Linked DNA regions of Homo sapiens: region 1 is linked to region 2. Evidence: promoter capture Hi-C in 16 types of primary human blood cells and fetal thymus (Javierre and others, 2016). All regions are on one chromosome and are shown on one strand. Each heading gives the region's core, a stretch centred on a gene start or on the middle of the fragment in contact. The rest is flanking DNA. Distances are from core to core; before and after follow the strand shown.

Region 1 (4,730 bases), core at 2,231-4,730, 740 kb before region 2:
TATTGTCTGAAATGCAAATATGCATATATACATATCAGAAAGACATCAAAATTGGAAGTCCTGTCACAAAACTTTTTCTCTATCCCCTAAAAAAAAAATCAAACTCTTTGTCAAATACACAAATTCAAAAGCTAACTCCAGATAAACTGCAAGGGATCTTGACAAATAAATAAAAACTTCTCTCATATGACTCTTATACATTCAGTCTCAGGTTGCCCAAATTGCTTTAGACAGCTAAAGATGATGGCACACCGATTCTTGTGCCATATTGTCATCCCTTCACATAAGGGCTACTGTACTTCTGTTCCACTTCTAATGCGCTTCCAGCTCTTACTCCAAGCCTCCTCCTCTTCAGACTCCAACACCTAGCCTATAGTCACTATTGGGTGAAAGGTGGCCATTGCCACCACACAAGTTAAGAATCAAATCAAAGAATGTTAAAGCCAAACTCCAGAAACTGTCTAGTCAAAAGAGGAAACTGGTATCAAAAGCAGGCACACAATAGTAGGCATCAGTCAAGCCAAGACCAAAATTCCTGTCTCCCGTCTGGCAGTCCAGTGCTTTCGGCATGGTACTACACATGCAGCCAAATGAGGAAGCCTGGAAAGAGCTGGGGCAGTGAAAGCAGAGGAAGGGAAAGTGGACAACTTGGAAAGAGAGATGTGTGCCAACCTGGAATGCAATCCAAACAGGAACGGAACTACTCTGGCAACCTAAAATCTTTCAAATTGTTTAAAATAAAATATTATTCCATTCAACAGAAATATTTTTTAAAAGGAGGAAGCTCTCGACGGGAGGATCGCTTGAGTCCAGGAGGCGTAGGTTGCAGTGAGCCCACATCGCACCACTATACTCCAGCCTGCATGACCGAGTGAAACTGTCTCAAAAAAAAAAAAAAAAAAGAGGAAGCTCTCCATCATACTGATATGAAAAGATTGCCAAGATAAGTGAAAAAAGGAAATAAGGTATAGACAGTACATATACTATGCTACGGTTTGTTTAAAAGGAAGAGGTGAGTAAGAATGTATTCTAATAGGCCTAGCATGGTGGCTCTGTAATCCTAGCACTTTGGGAGGCCAAGGCAGGAGAACTGCTTGAGTCCAGGAGTTTGAGACCAGCCTGGCAAAATAACAAAAATCCATGTCTATAAAAAATTTAAAAATTCGTTGGGAGTAGTGGCGCATGCCTGTAGTCCCAGCTACTCAGGAGGCTGAGGCGGAAGGATTGCTTTAGCCCAGGAGTTCAAGGCTGCAGTGAGCCGTGATTGCCACTGCATTCCAGTCTGGGCGACAGTGAGACCCTATCTCAAAAAAGAAAAAAAGGAAAAAAGAATGCATTCTATTTTCATTGTAAATGTAAATAATGAGAAGATAAACAAGAAGTCATAAATAATGATCAGGGCCAGGAACATGGTAAGAAGGAGACTTTTACTTTTTATTTTATGTGTATTTTGAACCATGTGAACCTATTACCTGAATTTTAAAAATGTAAACAAAAAAGGACTAATGTCGCTAATGGTCCATATGATGAAATATTATGCAGCCATTAAAAAACATGCTTTCAAAGAATAATTAATGCCCTAGGAAAATAAAAATCAGAAAACAAACCTATGCCAATAATACATAATAATAACAACTCTGTAGTTTAATCTTCATAGCAATCTTATGAAGTCCACAGCATCAGTATCCCAATTTTAAAAATAAAGTCTACAGAGTTCCTAAGTTGGCTGGATCAAACCCAAGAAGTTGACTCCACAGTGATCCCAAATTTTAAATGCACAAAAACCAAAGGAAAATAAGGTAAAATGTTAAACACTGGTTCTCTGGGTGGTAGAATTATGGATGGTTTTATTTTTCTCCTTTATCTTATTCTGAATTTTAATTTTTTTCTACCGTGTACACATATTACATTTACAATATGCCAAAAACAGTAAATTTTTGTTAAAGTAAAACCAGGGAAATAATAAAATGCCAAAATCTTCCATTATTGTGGATGGTAAGCTGTCACAGACACAAAAATCTAAAGGGTTATGTTCAAGATCAATTAAGAGCAGAGGCAGGCCCAGAAGCCAGAACCAGTCTATTATATCACACTTTCTTATCTATGCCATCCTCTTCTGGTGGAGGAATGATTCTGAAAGATCTGCAGAGCACAATTGTGGAAGTTGACACTACATCAGATGAGCCATTTCTGGTTCAAATTTCTTGTCATGTCACTCCAAGACAGTAACATGCATATCACATGCGCCTCAACCAACTAAACAAAAAATGATGCCTGAATAGAGAGTGGTCAGCAGACTCCCCAAAATTTCTTTAGTTTAGAGAGAGAGAAAGTGAAAGGGAGAAGTAGAAAATGGGTGGAAAAACGTAATAATTACAAAAATACTCTTAAGTTTTTGGGGTTACAGATCCCTTTGAAAAATGGATGACAACTATGGACTCTCTGCTCAGAAAAACATACATGCAAAAATTTTACAAATAACTTGAGACTCCAAAGTCTTTCTGTGAATCCTAAGTTAGCAACCATGGATTCTGAGTCAGACTTCTATTCAATAAAAGAAGTAACTTCAGTCAGATCTGCTTCTGGGATCTGATAGTTCTTTGTGCCTGGAAGAGTTCAAGCAAAAATTAGGTGAGAAATTGGCAGATGTGTTATAAAGGAGATTAAAATACTGAAAGGGGCTGGTTTTCTAACCTTAAGATTCCATGATTCCAATGTGAGCAAAAAAATACGGGCTCAATCAACTCTCTGGTTGAACACTCACTGAACGCTCTGTGGTGCCAAACTCTACATTCAGTGCTGTGGTGAGATACCAAAGTCAGAGAAGACATGGAACCCGCCTCTAAAGAACACTGAAATTGTGGGAATATGTAAAGTGTGCTTAAATCTACAAAGCAGGAGCTTTACAGGTTACAGAGCTCTTTTACTTTCCTTATCCAAGTCAAGCTTCATGACAACAAATTAAAAGGGGAAAGAAGCACTTAACACAGTGCTAATAATAATAAAATATATTCATTGAATGCTTACTACATTCCAGATACTTTCAATCAAGCAGCAAATAATATTTGAGCACCCACTTGGTGTCAGGCACTGCAGTAAGCACAGTGAATACACAGCAGAATCTGTGCCCACATACATCAACTAATTTATTTAATCAATCCTATGAACTGTTATTTTTGTCTCTAATTTATAGTTGAAGAAATTCAGGCTCAGAGAGGTTAAGTTACTAACCGAAGGTCATACAGTCAAGAGGCAGACAGGAGATTTCACCCAGGACCACTGGAACTCAAATCTGTGCTCTTCTCCACTGCATCCTGGTGCCAAGCCCACAACTCCAAAACTACAGCTTTCCTGGATCATTTCACAATGTCAGCTTCTCATCATGCAGATATCTCAAGTCCCCAAGCACTCTAGACGTCACTGATGACAGCAGGAAGAACAAGGCCTTCTACTTACTTTAGCCTTCACTTAATTCTAAAGTCAAATTTATGAGTCAGTGGGACAGGTATTATAATCCCCAAGTCTACAAAACTGAGGGAGAAGAAGGCTATCTTAGCCACTGTGAGAAACGGAAATAATCACAGAGCAAGAAGAAACACCAAGCAACTGATCTTTATCCAGCACAGCAAAGTGCATCTGCTCTTGAGCAAATCCAGGGCCCACCACTACTGTAAATGGAAACTGGTATGCCTTGCCAAAACAGAAAGTGGCCACAAAAATAAATGTTATTTAAGTGAAATAATCAGACGCAATGCAAGATCAGCGCTGAGCCTGAGTCCTGATCTCTGTTTAAGAGACATGAGCAATTGTTAGAGAAGAGTGAAGGTGTGTTAGAGAGGAGTTGGGGCAGTATGTCAGAACAAACGAGCACTACGTTTATTGAGAATAATCAGAAGAAATGAAAGAGCCTGTAAAGGAGACTACCTGCTTGGCTACGTGATTACATACATGTTATCTGATAAAGTGTCCACCCAAAATCATGTCCGGTGTCACTGTTTAGTGCTTGACACAAAGTAAGCTTTCAGTAAAGAACAGCTGTCGATGTCATTGTTTGGAATAACTGTTTTTCTCCATGTTATTGTTGGGATTGGATCGCAGAATAGCTGGTGCCATAAGACTGCCAACCTCAGCTCACCAGGCTTGTCCTTGTCACTTATCAGAGGAGTAAACTGAGACCCAGAGCCACGCGGTCGGCTAGTGGCAGGGCAGAGCCGGATACCCGGGCCCAGTGCGACGCTCGCGCCTCATCCTTTCTCCTTAAGGCGAGGACATCCTCCTCAAAGGGAGGGACCTCCCCCCGCAGACACCCGGGAGCTCCCAAACTCCCCGAAGCACTCACCTTCATGACTGCCAGGCCCGGAGGCCACCGAGACTCGGCCAGGGAGTCCATGGTCGCTCCCGAGGATGCTGGGGGTCAGCCACCCACTAGCCTCCGGCGCTCCAACACCACTCGAAATTCCCCGCGCTACCGCATTACGTCAGCAGCCCGCGACGCGCCAGAGGCGGGCGCGGAGCCTGCCGGAAGTTGTAGTAGTATGTGGGCGGGGCGCCGCTTAAGGGCTTGTACTGCGCATGCGCCAGGCTTCTGCCGCACTTACCTTGAAGAAAGTGAATGGTTAAAAAGCGTAGAGCCAGTTGAATATTAAGAAAAGATAGCCAGGAATCAAACCAAATCCAGACCTCACCAGATCTGTCAAGGTCCAGGCTCATGACCCCCCTCCGGGTCGCCC
Region 2 (5,479 bases), core at 1,850-4,349:
AGCAGACAGTGGGTTCTTCCAGGGCAATAGCTTCCTCCTAAGATGCGTCATGTCTAGGCCTCAAGGCTGGGGCCTTTTTTTTCTTTTCTTTTTTTTTTTTTTTTAGACACAGTCTCACTCTGTTGCCCAGGCTGGAGTGCAGTGGTGCAGTCTGGCTCACTGTGACCTCTGCCTCCCGGGATCAAGTGATTCTCCTGCCTTCAGCCTCCCAAGTAGCTGGGATTACAGGCATATGCCACCATGTCCAGTGAATTTTTATATTTTCAGTAGAGACAGGGTTTTGCCATGTTGGCCAAGCTAGTCTCGAACTCCTGACCTGCCTCGGCCTCCCAAAGTGCTGGGATTACAGCCAAGGCTGAGGACTTTCAACAGCTGCAGCGTGCTGCCAGATTTCAGGGGCCTCCTTACTGTTAGGTATAAGACTTCATGCCTCAGCTTGCTCTTCCTGAGGAGTGGAAGCAGAGAGCTGCTGGGGCAAATTCCCTCCTGCTTAGCTACCCTCCTTCCCAGTGATCGCAAAGATAGTTATTTTCACAACAGGTCAGGTCAGGCCAGGCACAGTTGCTCACGCCTGTAATCCCAGTACTGTGGGACGCCAAGGCAGGCGGATCAGTTGAGTCCAGGAGTTTGAGACCAGCCTGGGCAACATGGTAAAACCCTATCATGGTGGCATGTGCCTGTAGTCCCAGCTACTTGAGGGGCTGAGGTGGGAGGATGGCTTGAGGCTACAGTGAGCGCTGATTGTGTCACTGCATTCCAGCCTGGGCAATAGAGTGAGACCTTGTCTCAAGAAAAAAAAAAAAAAGGTTAGTGTCCCAGTAAAAGCTCCTGCTCTAGGTGGGAACAGTAGCCTGAGGGCTTAGAGGAATGGTTTAAGGGAAAACAGGGCCAGATATTTGGGGCCTGAACCACAAGGATAGCATGGCCGTAGGACAGACACTGGCCTTGTACAGTCAGAAGAAGCACAAGGACAGGTGGTATGGAGGGAGGGAGGATGAGGATACTGGGTCCTGTCCCAGGGTAATGTCTTTGTTCTTTCTCTTGACCTCCCCATAGGCTTGCAGCCCTGAGTGATCGAGAGACTCGGCTGCAGGAGGTGCGCTCAGCCTTCTTGGCTGCGTACAGCAGCACAGTGGGGCTTCGGGCAGTAGCCCCCAGTCCTTCCGGTGCCATCGGGGGCCTGCTGGAGCAATTTGCCCGTGGTGTTGGACTCCGGAGCATCAGCAGCAATGCCTTGTGAAGAAGCCAGCCCATGACATTTTCCTGCTCCTCTCTCAGCTGAGCCCTTAGCAGAGAATCAAAGCCATGCCTGGCCGAAGGGGTACTTCCAGGTCAGGGGAAATTTCAGTCCCCCATCTCCATCATGAACATGGCAGCCCCAAAGCTGAGCAAGGCCAAAGACAGGGTTTTCCAACCCCCAGCCTCTTGACTGGTGACCACCACCCCTTCTTGTCACTGTCTCCCACCCACCCCATCTTTGCTGGGATTCCCATCAACTCTCAGAACTGTGTGGGGTTTCCCTGGGGCCTTGTGGAAGCCATGACTTCACAAAGACCCTACCTGTCAGTTCTTGTTTCTGGGGAGGAGGGATCACCTGCACTGAGAATGAGGCAGTTTGACACAGATCACAAAATAAAATCAAAGTCTTTTTGAATAGCCACTCTTGTGTCATCATTTGGTTATTGTCTTTGTGGAGCTACTAGGAAGGTTCTCATTGTCCTTCCTTGTGCTGGACAAGGGGTTTTTATGTGGAGGGCAGGTGAAACAGGAAGAGAACTGGCGACAGGTATACCTCTCCACTCATGAGCCATGGTAGTCCCTGCAGTGGGGACAACACTCAAGACTGTTGAGAGTAGTGGTTCTCGGGCCTAAGCAGGTCCTAGTCACCTAGAGAGCCTGATGAGCTGTGCACATTCCCAGGGCTGCCTGAGCTTTAGCCTTAGGGTTGCTAAGGAAGTTGCCTGGGAATTAGGAGCTGGAGGATCTTCATTTTTTTCAGATTTTTTGAGATGGAGTCTCACTGTTACCCAAGCTGGAGTGCAATGGCACAATCTTGGCTCACTGCAACCCCTGCCTCCTGGGTTCAAGCGATCCTCCTGCCTCAGTCTCCTGAGTAGCTACGTGAACGTGCCACCATCCCCAGCTAATTTTTGTATTTAGTAGAGATGGGGTTTCACCATGTTGGCCAGGCCAGTCTCAAACTCCTGAGCTCAAGTGATCTGCCTGCCTTGGCCTCCTAAAGTGCTGGGATTACAGGCATGAGCCACCGTACCTGACCAGGATCTTCATCTTTAACAAGTTCTGTAGGCAGCAGGGTCCTGGTACGGGTGACCTGCATCCCCTACCTTGAGCCCTGCCTATGGAGGAAGGACTGGCTTCTGAAGCTTTGGAGATAGCAATTGGTGTGCATGTGTGGTGGGTGAGAGCCTGGCTGACCACCACCCTCTTCTACAGTGTAACCTACAGTAGATTGCGTCATGAGAGTGTGTCCGCATCTGTAACGCCATGAAAGTCGTGAGGGTTAAAGGCATGGGCAGACAGCTTTGCACGGTGCTCAACAGCCACCATTTACTGTCATCATTGTGAATACCCAGAGGACAAATCATAAATACCAGTGAATGTTTACTGAGCACTTGCTGTGTGCTAAGTGTTTTCCTTGGGTTATCTCAGTAAAATTTTACAGCACCTAAAGTAGCTGCTGTTAAAGGCCTTTCTGACGGCCTTTCACGGTTGAGCCACAGAGATGTTGAGTAACTTGTCCAAGGTCACACAGCTACTAAGAGATGTACTTTTCCTATTCAGAGACCTAGGCAGGCTGGGAGTGGGAAAAGACAGAAACACTAAGGGAGTGGCTCAGTAAGAGGCAACAATTCCAGTGCCCACCAGGTGCCCCAAATGTTTCAGCATCATGGACAACTCTAGGGGGCTTGGGTTTCCACCCCAGAGACTTGCGCAGGGCAGACTCTACCAAGGTGTGGGTTGGAGTTGGGAGTCGGGGTGAGGTTCCCCGCTGGCTCCAGGCTGCTCCAATGGGGCGGGGGCCGCCCGCAGGGCCGGGCGGGGCTGTGCTGCCATCTGGAGCCGCTGCCGCCGGCGGCCACTGTCAGGGCGCGAGCGGCTGGAGCGCACGCAGGGCTGGAGCGAGTGCAGCCGCCGCCGCCGCCGACACCGCGGCACATGGGCCGGCCCCGCCGCTGCCGTCGCCCCTAGCCCCAGCAGCCCTGGTCTCGCAGCCTCCTGCGGCTCTGGTCGCCCGACCAGCCATGTCTCTCGGCGGAGCCTCCGAGCGCAGCGTCCCGGCCACCAAGATTGAAATTACCGTGTCCTGCCGGTGAGCGGGCCGCGCTGGGGAGGGCTTAGGCACTGGCACTGCCCCAGCCCCAGCCAGCCGCGGGGCTCAGCCTGGGCAGGGGCTAGACCCCCGGGGAGAGGCGAAATTGGCTGGAAAATCACAGCTGATGACAGGGCGAGTAGCTGGTGGGATCGAGAAGCGGGGGGTCTTGGGCAGCCCCACCCCGAAAAAAGGGCTCAGCCTGCGGGTTCAGGGGGTGGGTCGCAGATATCCGGTAGGAGCTCGGCCCCAGGAGGACAAAGTTCTGGGGCGAGCCCTCTTTCCTGGGCCCTTGGAGACAGTGTGGGTGCGTTCGCGTCCAGTCCGCAGAGCCATGGTTCCTGGACAGCGATTTCCGGTGCTGTCCAGAGTGCTGACAGAGCGGACCCCGGCTGGGGGTAGCCATGGGGGACAGAGGTTCGATGCGGGCCCCATGCCTCTCCTCAGTGCCCGGCTCAGAGCCGACTCGAGGCGGGCGGACTCCAGGATGATCCACTCTGTCTGTCTGTTGCTTTTCTCTAGGAACCTGCTAGACCTTGATACCTTCTCCAAGTCCGACCCCAGTAGGCGGCTCCAGGACCGGGAGGGGGAACTTGGGGTCTGGGCGCGACTCAGGGGCGGGTGGAGTCGGGGCCAGGGGTGGGAGCCGACCTGACGTCCTTCCCTCCCCGCCCCCACCTGCAGTGGTGGTGCTTTACACGCAGAGCCGGGCCAGCCAGGAGTGGCGGGAGGTGAGTCCCAGAGCCCCCTCCCGGCCCAGGGCGTCGCCCGGGAATTCCCCTGCCCGTCTGCACGTCCCACGCTGACCCTCCACCCCCCTACCCAGTTCGGACGGACCGAGGTGATTGATAACACGCTGAACCCAGACTTCGTGCGCAAATTCGTCCTCGACTATTTCTTTGAGGAAAAGCAAAATCTGCGCTTCGATGTGTGAGGCCCCGCCTGGAATTCTGGCTTGGCCCGCCCCCGACCTGGATCCGCCCGGAATTCTGGCTGGCCCCACCCCCGCCTCGCCTCCGGCCTGGTTCTTCTCGCAGGCCTCCCTCCCATTCTGAATGGCCCCCTCTAGCCTGAGCCCTGCCCTTTTATGAGATGCGGTCCAGTTCCGTCCCCCGCTCTGGCCCCGCCCACAACTCTGCTCCTATCGCAGCTCCACCTCAGGCCCGACCCCTTCCACACAACCCTGCCCCCAGCAGCCCCTGACTTGGCCTCGGCCCAGGCTTGACCGTCTGACTACTCAGCCCACCCTGACTCCTCCCCAAAAGGAGACCAAAGCTGAATTCGGGTCCACGGCCGCCCATCCCTCCACCCAAAATTTTCACCAAGACTCGGTGCCCGACCCCTTTCCACCCTCTCCCCCACCCAGCCCCACCCCACACCGGTTCCACTCTTTTCCCAGGTACAACGTGGACTCCAAAACCAACATCTCCAAACCGGTGAGCAAACGTTTCCTCGAGGGTTGGCGGAGCGCACAGGAGGCACTTAGATGTGTTCAACGACTCTCAGAACTCCTCCCAACCCTCGACCCAGACCCCATCTTCTTCAGGCCCCCAACCCACCCTCCTGGTCCCTCTCCTCCTGCCTGAGTGTCCTGCCTGTGCCCCCTACTCACTGTTCCTCTTCCTTCTTGGCTGCCACTGCTGGGACCTGCAGAAGGTGAGGCTGAATGGGGCTGGGCAGAGGTTGGGGGTGGGGGTGGTATTGTGGAGAACAGGCTTGGACTGATGACCCACTACAAGGCAGAGATTGCTCGCAGACCCCTTCTTTCACACCCCCTCCATTAAAGCCCATGTAGGGCCGTGGCTCTTGCACCACTCATTCGCCTGGGAACTGCCCTGGTCCTGTGCAGGAGCATCACTGGGGCTAGGCTGGGACTCAGCACTCAAGAGCTTCTGGTCTTGCTGACTCCTTGTCCTGCATAGGATTTCCTGGGACAAGCGTTCCTGGCCCTGGGAGAGGTGATTGGAGGCCAGGGCAGCCGAGTAGAGCGAACCCTCACGTAAGCTGAATAGGAAGGGGTGTGGGAGTGGGGTGGGGGCTTCCAAATTCTCCCTCCCAAGGATGCCGCTGACTGATAGAAGTGGAGGCTGGGGTTGCCCCTGGTCAGGAGCCTGCCCCGGCTCCCATCACCCTCGTAGAAAAGTCCAA

Evidence for each region. The method cuts DNA at HindIII sites, captures the fragments that hold promoters and counts their contacts. A CHiCAGO score of 5 or more calls a contact.
Region 1: a contact is called between a fragment that was not itself captured here and the fragment with the promoter of CPNE9 in region 2, in 1 of 17 cell types (neutrophils). The highest score is 5.9, in neutrophils.

What each region holds. Positions count from the first base shown.
Region 1 is chr3:8,958,996-8,963,725 of GRCh38, forward strand. It overlaps RAD18 (RAD18 E3 ubiquitin protein ligase), which reads right to left and starts at 4,477. Exons shown (of 13, transcript NM_020165.4): 1 at 4,340-4,477; 2 at 1-6. The coding sequence starts at 4,390. RefSeq lists an enhancer at 4,325-4,494. The HindIII fragment of the contact is 1,072 bases long and covers 2,945-4,016 here.
Region 2 is chr3:9,700,734-9,706,212 of GRCh38, forward strand. CPNE9 (copine family member 9) reads left to right here and starts at 3,100. Exons shown (of 21, transcript NM_153635.3): 1 at 3,100-3,331; 2 at 3,854-3,894; 3 at 4,016-4,062; 4 at 4,158-4,261; 5 at 4,731-4,767; 6 at 4,985-4,987; 7 at 5,254-5,330. The coding sequence starts at 3,264. MTMR14 (myotubularin related protein 14) reads left to right here. Exons shown (of 19, transcript NM_001077525.3): 19 at 1,057-1,660. The coding sequence ends at 1,240. RefSeq lists an enhancer at 2,739-3,649. The HindIII fragment of the contact is 18,760 bases long and covers 2,383-5,479 here.